3 separate regions of the Homo sapiens genome follow, and regions 1 and 3 are each linked to region 2. Evidence: promoter capture Hi-C in 16 types of primary human blood cells and fetal thymus (Javierre and others, 2016). All regions are on one chromosome and are shown on one strand. Each heading gives the region's core, a stretch centred on a gene start or on the middle of the fragment in contact. The rest is flanking DNA. Distances are from core to core; before and after follow the strand shown. Region 1 overlaps MARCHF3 (membrane associated ring-CH-type finger 3). Region 2 holds the start of MARCHF3 (membrane associated ring-CH-type finger 3). Region 3 overlaps MARCHF3 (membrane associated ring-CH-type finger 3).

Region 1 (2,700 bases), core at 40-2,539, 92 kb before region 2:
TAAAATGAAGTGACAAATTCACAAATGTCCCCAGCTACAGAGCACTGCAGCAATGTAACAAACGGTCATCAGTGGTCACCACCACCAAGTTCATGCCTGAACCCTTCAGTGGTCCTTTGCCCCACTTGGGGGCAGTCACAGATGTCAACAGTAGACAGACAATGACCCAGACAGGATATACTCTTTTTTCCTCATACATCTACAATGTGTCTAAATTAACATCTGGTTACCTTTTTTTTTCTTTTTAACAAGAAAGATGCCAATTTAAATTAAAAATCCATATACTTTACAGAAGTCATATTCTTGCTAGAGAAGACAAATTATAAACAGGAGCCAGCAGCAATAATCTGCCAAATTTTATAAAGCATCATTTATCATTCCTCTTTGGAATTTATATATCCAAATTGTCCAGACAGCAATTGTATATTTAGACCATGGGGCCTTATGAGAATTGGTGGGTGTAGTCACCTGTTTTATAAATGAGGAAACTAAAACAAAGGGATTTTATGATTTTCTTAGCACCATAAGTTAGTGGAAGAACCTGATTAACTCGATTTCTGACCCAAATTTCTATGAATTGCTACCACTATTATTATTTAATACTGACTAAATGGATATACTATGCAAGGTGACCTTGGTTGTTGTTTTTGGGGTGAGAGTGGGGTGAGAAGAAAGAGTAGGGAAATTCTTTTTAATTCTTTTACAGAATCGAAAAGCTTTCTTCCCCCAAGATTAGAGTTAACAAAGAAGGTGATTTCTGCAGTTATGACAAGCATATTCCACAAAAAAACTCCTGAGTTTCCTAATAACACTGAGTAGGAGTGAAGGCATAAAGGAAAGTATCTGCTCTTTTGATAAGACTCAAATTTTGAAACAAGGAGAATCCTGGTATTTAATGCTTGGGCAAGACCATGTGTAGTAGCTGCAGAATTTCATGACTAAATTTTACAATACATAGTTGCAGCAGCTATCACTGACATTGATGAGCACCTCGGATTTTTGCAATCCACATTTTATTAACTTAGGGGAGAATAGAACATAATTCTCAGCTCTGTTGATCTGATTCTTTTTTTTTTTTTTTTTTTTTTGAGACAGTCTTGCTCTGCCGCCCAGGCTGGGGTACAGAGGCTCAATCTTGGCTCATTGCAATCTCTGCCTCCCAGGTTCAAGCGATTCTGATGCCTCAGCCTCCCGAGTAGCTGGGATTACAGATGTGTGCCACCACACCTGGCTAATTTTTGTAATTTCAGTAGAGACAGAGTTTCACCATGTTGGCCAAGCTGGTCTCAAATTCCTGGCCTCATGTGATCTGCCCACCTCGGCCTCCCAGAGTGCTGGGATTACAAGTGTGAGCCACTGTGCCTGGCCTGTTGATCTGATTCTAGAGAACTTTGTTGTTGTTGTTTTTAAAAGCTAGGAGTTAACATGTAGGGCAAAAAAAGCAAAAAAAGCAAAAAAAAAAAAAATTTTACAAAAAAACCCTTAGAGCCAAATCCTTAGTATTTCCCAAGTCTCACACTGTGGATACAATTTCTCTTCATATTTGTGAGTCATCATGCATTTTTCTAGGCATCACAACTCATTCACTTCCTAACTTGTGCAATGATTTAATTTTTCCCCCATAGCATTTGTAGGCAGGAAACTTCTGGGAGCTGTGCTGCTGAATTACAGAAAATTAGAATCTGGTTTGAGGAAAATCACTTCACATGTGCATTACAATGAAGAAAATGTAATGTTTCCTCAGTTTCACAGAAGCCAAAATAAATAATTTTCCTTATTTCTTATATACATAACAAGAAAAACCATATAGTGATTTCCTTTTGCTATTAAAATCAGGTATTTGGGGAGTGGAGGAAGAGGTCTAAGCTTGTCCCGTCACTAAATGAAAATGAATTCTGTGGATACATTGGTCACTAAAGTTGCAAATGGCTCTTTTCCTTAGAAAATCTTAGAAAGATTGCCAGAGGTTTCTCCCTTCTTGGATATTGTATAATAACAGCACATGTACAGATTCCTGTTAGCATTGATTCTGCAACAAACATAATCTTATGCTAGGGTTGATTATAACAGGTGAACTCAACTTAAATGCTAGTATTATTTATTCATTGACAACCCCACCCCCTTGAGTATGCCTTCCCTAGATATGAAAAGGTTAGGCTCAACATCTCACCTACATAATCCCCCTCTTCATGCCCTTTCATTTGAAAGGAAAGGTTCCCTAAAGTGTTATAAGTTGTTTGGCGAGGGTTGACAAAAGGTCCAGGAGCGGCTGGGCTGGGAGAACACTTACTAACACCGTGGCTACTACCTGTTCTTCATTTCTTTCTTATCCCTTACACCTTCTTATGTGGGCTGTTCTGGGTGATCAGCCTTCACTATGATTCCTTTTGGAACACAGTATTAGTACATAAAACACAGAACCATAGTATCTGAGAAGGACTGGAAGAAATTATTACCAGAACTTTGTAAATGTTTAGTTGTAATCTTAACACCAGAGATTCATCAGGAATAAAAGTACTTAAACCCTGAATCTAAGACTTGAATAGAAAGGAAATTTAAACAGAGTCAGTTCTTGTTATTTACAGTAGTTATGTTCTATACATTGCTGATTACTGAATTAGTGAATACTGAACCATTGCTCTTAGAGAAAATGCAGGATTAGGTTCCTGTGGACCACTGGCCACATTTTCATCTACCAAT
Region 2 (2,700 bases), core at 120-2,619:
ACCTCATTCACCTTTTAATTTTATATATACACACACTCACACATATACACGTATGTATGTGTGTATATGCGCATCTACATCTTCATATACACATACAGAACTATATATCTCAACATTTTCATGTATTTTCAAAGGTCTAAACATCCCCAAATTCTGGACCTGTTTCTGTCTAGTATTTTCAAAAGCTCTTATTCATGTCAAATAAGAATTGTAAGAAAATATCGTATTGAATTCTGTTTATTCCGCACATAATATAAACTACATGCATGTAGTTGGTCTCAGAAAAACAAGCTGCTTTTACCCCCTTACCATTAAGGGGGGAAAACAATCTAACCCAGACCGAGTCACAAACGGAGTGTCAGGTTTAACCTTGAGTTCTCTGCTGTCAATTCCTGACTCAACTTCATCACTTAAACACGCAGGTGCTCAAACAAACACCAACCGACCAGGCTGGCAATCCCTTTCGCAGCCTCTAGGATTCTCCAAGGCACTGGGCACCAGAACCGACAGCAGCTCCCGCCTGGTCCTAACGAAGTCCTTCGGACACCCCTTGCGGGTGGATGTGGAGGTCCGAGCACCTCAGGAGGGTCATGGATTCAAGTGCTAATAGAAAGCAATTACTTTAGAAAGTTCAAAGCCCAGCAGTGCTCTCAATTCCTCTCAGTAGCTGCAGAGCACTGAAGCCCCCGCTACAGAACCCGGCTGGTACTCCAGTTCTCTGGCGCTGAGACCCACCTTGAGCCCGATGAGCGCTCGCTCAGCCTTGAGATCCAGACGCGGACGCCGGGTCTTACCGTACCGCACAGCGCGGGTAATTTTTCAGGAACCGCGGTCCGCACGCCGCGGGCGCGGAGGCCGCCCCAGCGCTCCATGTCGTTGCCGCAGAGGGGCAGGGGACGCGTCCCGGCCCCACCTACCCATGTCAATTACGCCAAGTTGGTGCGGACTGGAACCGCGTCCCGGGCGGAGTTGGGATGCTTTGACAAGAAGAAGTTCGGGAGTGGGGATATTGGCACGGAGTAAATCCCGCCCAGCCCTGACCTCCCCACAGCGGTCACGCTCGGACGAACGGACCGCCGAGCGCCAGGACGCGTCCCGTCCCCTCTCGCCGCCGCCGAACCGCGCCGAGAGGAGCCGCTAGCCCGGCGCGCGGCCACTCACCGTCCTCGCCGAGTCCCGATAGCAAACCGACGTCCCTGCTGCGGTTCTAAGTGCCAAGTTGCCCCCAGTCGGTGGCTGCTCACGGCCCAGTGGACCAGGGCACATTGGTTCCGGCGGGCACCTCAGGGGGAGTGCGGCAAGCCTGGCGGCCGCCGCGGCCACACAGTCGCCCACAGCGCGCTGACAATTCACGGACCTGCTCAACGAGTGAGGCGGAAAGCAGGGCTAAGCCGACCAGGCTCTGGAGGGGAGGCGGGGCTGCCGCTAGGGGCGGAGCCAGCCCCGGGGCGTCATCAGCCCATGACTGGCGGAGCCGACAGCCAGTCGTGGTGGCGCTGGGACCGCCCCGTAACCGCCGTCCAGTCGCCTGCGGCCGAGGGCAGGCTGGCGGGACGCGCCGGCGGCGGGGAAGTTGGTTATTGCGAAGTGCCGTGGCTGCCGGCGGGCGCTGCGGGACTCTCTGCAATGGGACCCGAGCAGCTCTAGAGGGAGGCGGCGGCCCCAGAAGGCCGTTGGCTGAGAGAGACCAGGAGCCCTCGGAGCCGCCGCGCGCATAGCGCTGTGGAGCAAGAAGCCAACCGCAGCGCGGGTCGACACGCCAGTATCTGGCACCGGCAGGAGGCGCGGAACTTAGCTGCCCCATCGGAACCCCGCCCGGAGGAAGCTGAGGGCCGAGAAAGGATGAATTCCGGACCGGGTCGCCCAGCCACAAGTGGAAACCTGGGCTCTCTGGAAAACGTTCTGATCTCGATCTGGCTATCTCTGAAACAAAACTCCAGCCCCGCAAACCTCCCAAAGTTCAGTACACGTCCCCGTCCTCACCCCTGCCCTCCGGGCCACCTGCAGCGGGGGACTTACCGGCGCCTCGGGTCTCCTCCTCCCGACCCAGCGCGTCGCGGACACAGCTGGCGGCCAACAGGAGGCTTGGGCGCTCGACGGCGCCGGAACCTGTGAGACCGTCGCTCTGGGCGGGCTGCCGTGCGGGGTGGCATCCTCTGCGGTGACTTCTGCTGTCTTTTGGGTCCGCCAGGATTCCAAAATCCCAGGCGGGTCGCTAGAATTATCCATCTTCGTGGACAGGAAGCCCCAGAACGAACCACATCTGTCCCACTCTGCTTCCGCCCTCCTTCCCCTTCGCAAGCTCCTGGCTGGGATGGAGACATCGGACGAGCTCGGAGATCCCGACCTCTCAGGGGTCACTCGCAGCCGAACAGCCTGGAATATGGCCTTGTGGGCCCTTCCCGCCCAACCCCCTAGGACCCCACTGCTCATCTTGTCAACCAGTTTCTGAGCCCCTACCCTGGCTGCAGCACGTGCTCGCACAGGCGCGCTGAGCTACTAACATAGAATCAAAAGCAGGGAGTTGGGTGTTCTTGCTTTCCCGCTGAAACCTAGAATGTAAACAAGCCCTAGACCGTCAGCTGTGGGTGGGTAGGGGCCTCTCCCTGCCTAGAACTGCTCTTGCCATGGGTAGGCACCTAACCCGTATTAGTAAGAATGAAGGAATGCATGCTCATAACAAGAAAGGGGTCAACCTGC
Region 3 (2,700 bases), core at 22-2,521, 74 kb before region 2:
ACTCATAGAGGCTTTTGCATAAAATAGTTTTACTTCTTAGTGTAATCTTTCCTTTATGAATTGTCCTTTTTTGTGTACCGACTGAGAAATAATCTCTTCCCCACAGTCATAAAGATATTTGCCTGCATTTCTTTCTAATAATTTTAAAGTTTTATTTTTCACTCAGGCCCTTAATACATTTAAAATTATCCATTTGTATGGGATGAGACATTAATCTACCTTTCTTTTTCATGAAGAGAACTAAATCACTTATTAAATAATCCTTTCTTTTCCCACTTATTTTTAATGCCTTGTCTACTCTATGCCAAATTCCCACATACATTTTGGAGATTGTTTTCGGAGTTTCTACACTGTTAAAATGAATAGGTCTCAGATTTTTGTCAGAACCTGTTTTTAAACAGTTTTCTTCTAGTCCTCAAATTGTCCATCTGTACCGCAACCTAACGATTTCTTTTGTCTTCAGTTACCCTGAAGATATTTTTAAACCAAGCCTCTTTGTTTATAAATGAAGAAACAAAGATGCAGAGATCTTATATTTCCCATTCAGGTTTACACAGCAAGACAATTAGAAAGCTTGAACTAGGTCCAGGCATGGTGGCTCACGCCTGTAATCTCAGCACTTTGGGAGGCCAAGGAATGCAAATAGCTTGAGCCCAGGAGTTCGAGACCAGCCTGAAAATACAGTGAAACTCTGTCTCTACTAAAAATACAAAAAAACAAAATTAGCCAGGTGTGGTGGCGGGCACCTGTAATCCCAGCTACTTGGGAGGCTGAGGCAGGGGAATCACTTGAACCTGGGAGGTGGAAGTTGCAGTGAGCCAAGATTGCGCCACTGTACTCCAGCCTGGGCAACAGAGTGAGGCTCTGTCTCCAAAAAAAAAAAAAAAAAAAAAAAAAACCAAAAAAACAACAACAAAAACAAAAAAACAAACAATAACAAAAAAAAACCCAGAAAGCTTGAACTCAGATCTTAACCTGCATCCCAATCCACTTTCCACTAATGCCTTCCTCACTAAAAGTTTCCATTTTCTGTGAACATTTTACTTTCATCAGTAGTTGAACGAAACTGCCCATTTCACCAAATCTTTGTCATGACTAGGTTTTATCATTTAAAACATCTCTTTGAATTGGCAGGTTAAGAACGGTGTTTCTTTCTTTTTAAAATATGGGGTCTCACTATGTTGCCCAGGTTGGCCTGGACCTGCTGGCTTCAGGTGATCCTCCCACCTCAGCCTCCTGAGTAGCTGGGACTATGGGCACATGCCATGGTGCCACTGTGCCCGGCTAAGAATGGTATTCTTTTATTAGAGTTTTTTTTGACATAAACATTTTAGTAAATATACATTAAGTAATAAATATTCCTTTAAAACTTTATCACGTTTCTTGGCCATAGTATTTAGTCTTTTTTATTTGTCTATTCATGTCTTTTCCTTACTTTCCTATTGAGTTATATTTTTTGCCTTTTTATTAGTGGTGCTTAAGAATTCCATGTATATATTAAAGATAGTAACCTTTTGTCACATATGTTTAACTTTAAAAACATTCAGTTATTTGTCTTCTAATTTTGTTTACAGGCTATTTGACACATAAGCTTTAGAAGTTAAACCTATCAATCATTTTTTCTGCAGTCTCTTCCATCATTCCTGTACTTCCAAGTGCAGATAAATACTCATCCTAGATTTTTCTATAGCTTTATGATTTCATAAAACCTTCAATCCATTTGTAATTTATTTTGGTGTATTGCATGATGTTAAAAAGTAACTTTCATTTTCTCCCAATGGTTTCTCAATTGGATCAATCTTATTTTTGATAACTTCTTTATTTATATGTCATCTTTATCTGTAGTAAATTCTTATACATACTTGAATCTGTTCCTAGATTCTGCTTCATTAATCTATTTTTGTAAAACATCACATTTAAAAATTATTATAGACTTATAATTCATTTTTAATAACTGGTAGAGGAAGATTCCCAACATTACTGTGCTCAGATTTTACTCATCATTTCTGTTGTTTATCCTTCCTGATATTTTTAAAATCATCATCTAAAATTGTTACCTTGTTAAAAATGTATTTAAGCTGAACAATAATATAGAAAGAATTGTGTCTTGCAAATATTTAGTTTTCTCATCTAGGAACATAGTATTTATTCAAATTTTCTTTTATTTTGCTCAGTATTTTAGTTTTCCAAATATAGATTTATTACTGAATATTTTATACTCTTGTAAATGGGACATTTCCCATTACATGTTATAACTACTTATTGCCCATACACGGGAAAGCTATTGATTTTAGTTTTATTTTGTATACAGATTTTTATTATCAAATTTTTATTTATTACTTTGTGTTGATTCTTTTAAGTTTCTAGGTAAACAGAAATATAACATACAAATCATGGCTATCTTTCTCCTCCTTTTCTCTGCTTTCTGTTTCTTAGATGGGCAGTAGCTTCCAGAATAATACTGAATGATCATGATGACAGGGAATATCTTTGTCTTGTTTTACATTTTAATAAGGTTACTTGATTTTAATAAGGTGCTTCCAGTTTACCATTAACCGTCCTCTATATTGTTTCTCTGGCCAAGACAAGTGATTATATTAAGATGTATATTAGTTTAATAAATGGTCTAGCTTGCTTACTTTTTCTTGAATTAAAGCTTTTTCTTTACAGAGTTCAATTTTCTTAAACTTCTAAAAGCCC

What was found. Contacts are between HindIII fragments. The CHiCAGO score rates a contact against its expected background, and 5 or more counts as called.
Region 1: a fragment that was not itself captured here is called in contact with the fragment with the promoter of MARCHF3 in region 2 in 10 of 17 cell types (total B cells, naive B cells, erythroblasts and 7 more); the score reaches 17.3 in total B cells.
Region 3: a fragment that was not itself captured here is called in contact with the fragment with the promoter of MARCHF3 in region 2 in 6 of 17 cell types (total B cells, naive B cells, erythroblasts and 3 more); the score reaches 12.3 in total B cells.

What each region holds. Positions count from the first base shown.
Region 1 is chr5:126,937,100-126,939,799 of GRCh38, forward strand. The region is part of intron 1 of MARCHF3 (membrane associated ring-CH-type finger 3); the gene reads right to left. Among named protein-coding and RNA genes, the nearest start is that of MARCHF3, 92 kb to the right of the region's middle. The HindIII fragment of the contact is 1,150 bases long and covers 715-1,864 here.
Region 2 is chr5:127,029,189-127,031,888 of GRCh38, forward strand. It overlaps MARCHF3 (membrane associated ring-CH-type finger 3), which reads right to left and starts at 1,370. Exons shown (of 5, transcript NM_178450.5): 1 at 1,162-1,370. LOC105379163 (a long non-coding RNA gene) reads left to right here and starts at 2,155. Exons shown (of 2, transcript XR_007058920.1): 1 at 2,155-2,700. RefSeq lists a silencer at 1,332-1,711 and an enhancer at 1,708-2,252. The HindIII fragment of the contact is 7,560 bases long and covers 1-2,700 here.
Region 3 is chr5:126,955,774-126,958,473 of GRCh38, forward strand. The region is part of intron 1 of MARCHF3 (membrane associated ring-CH-type finger 3); the gene reads right to left. Among named protein-coding and RNA genes, the nearest start is that of MARCHF3, 73 kb to the right of the region's middle. The HindIII fragment of the contact is 635 bases long and covers 955-1,589 here.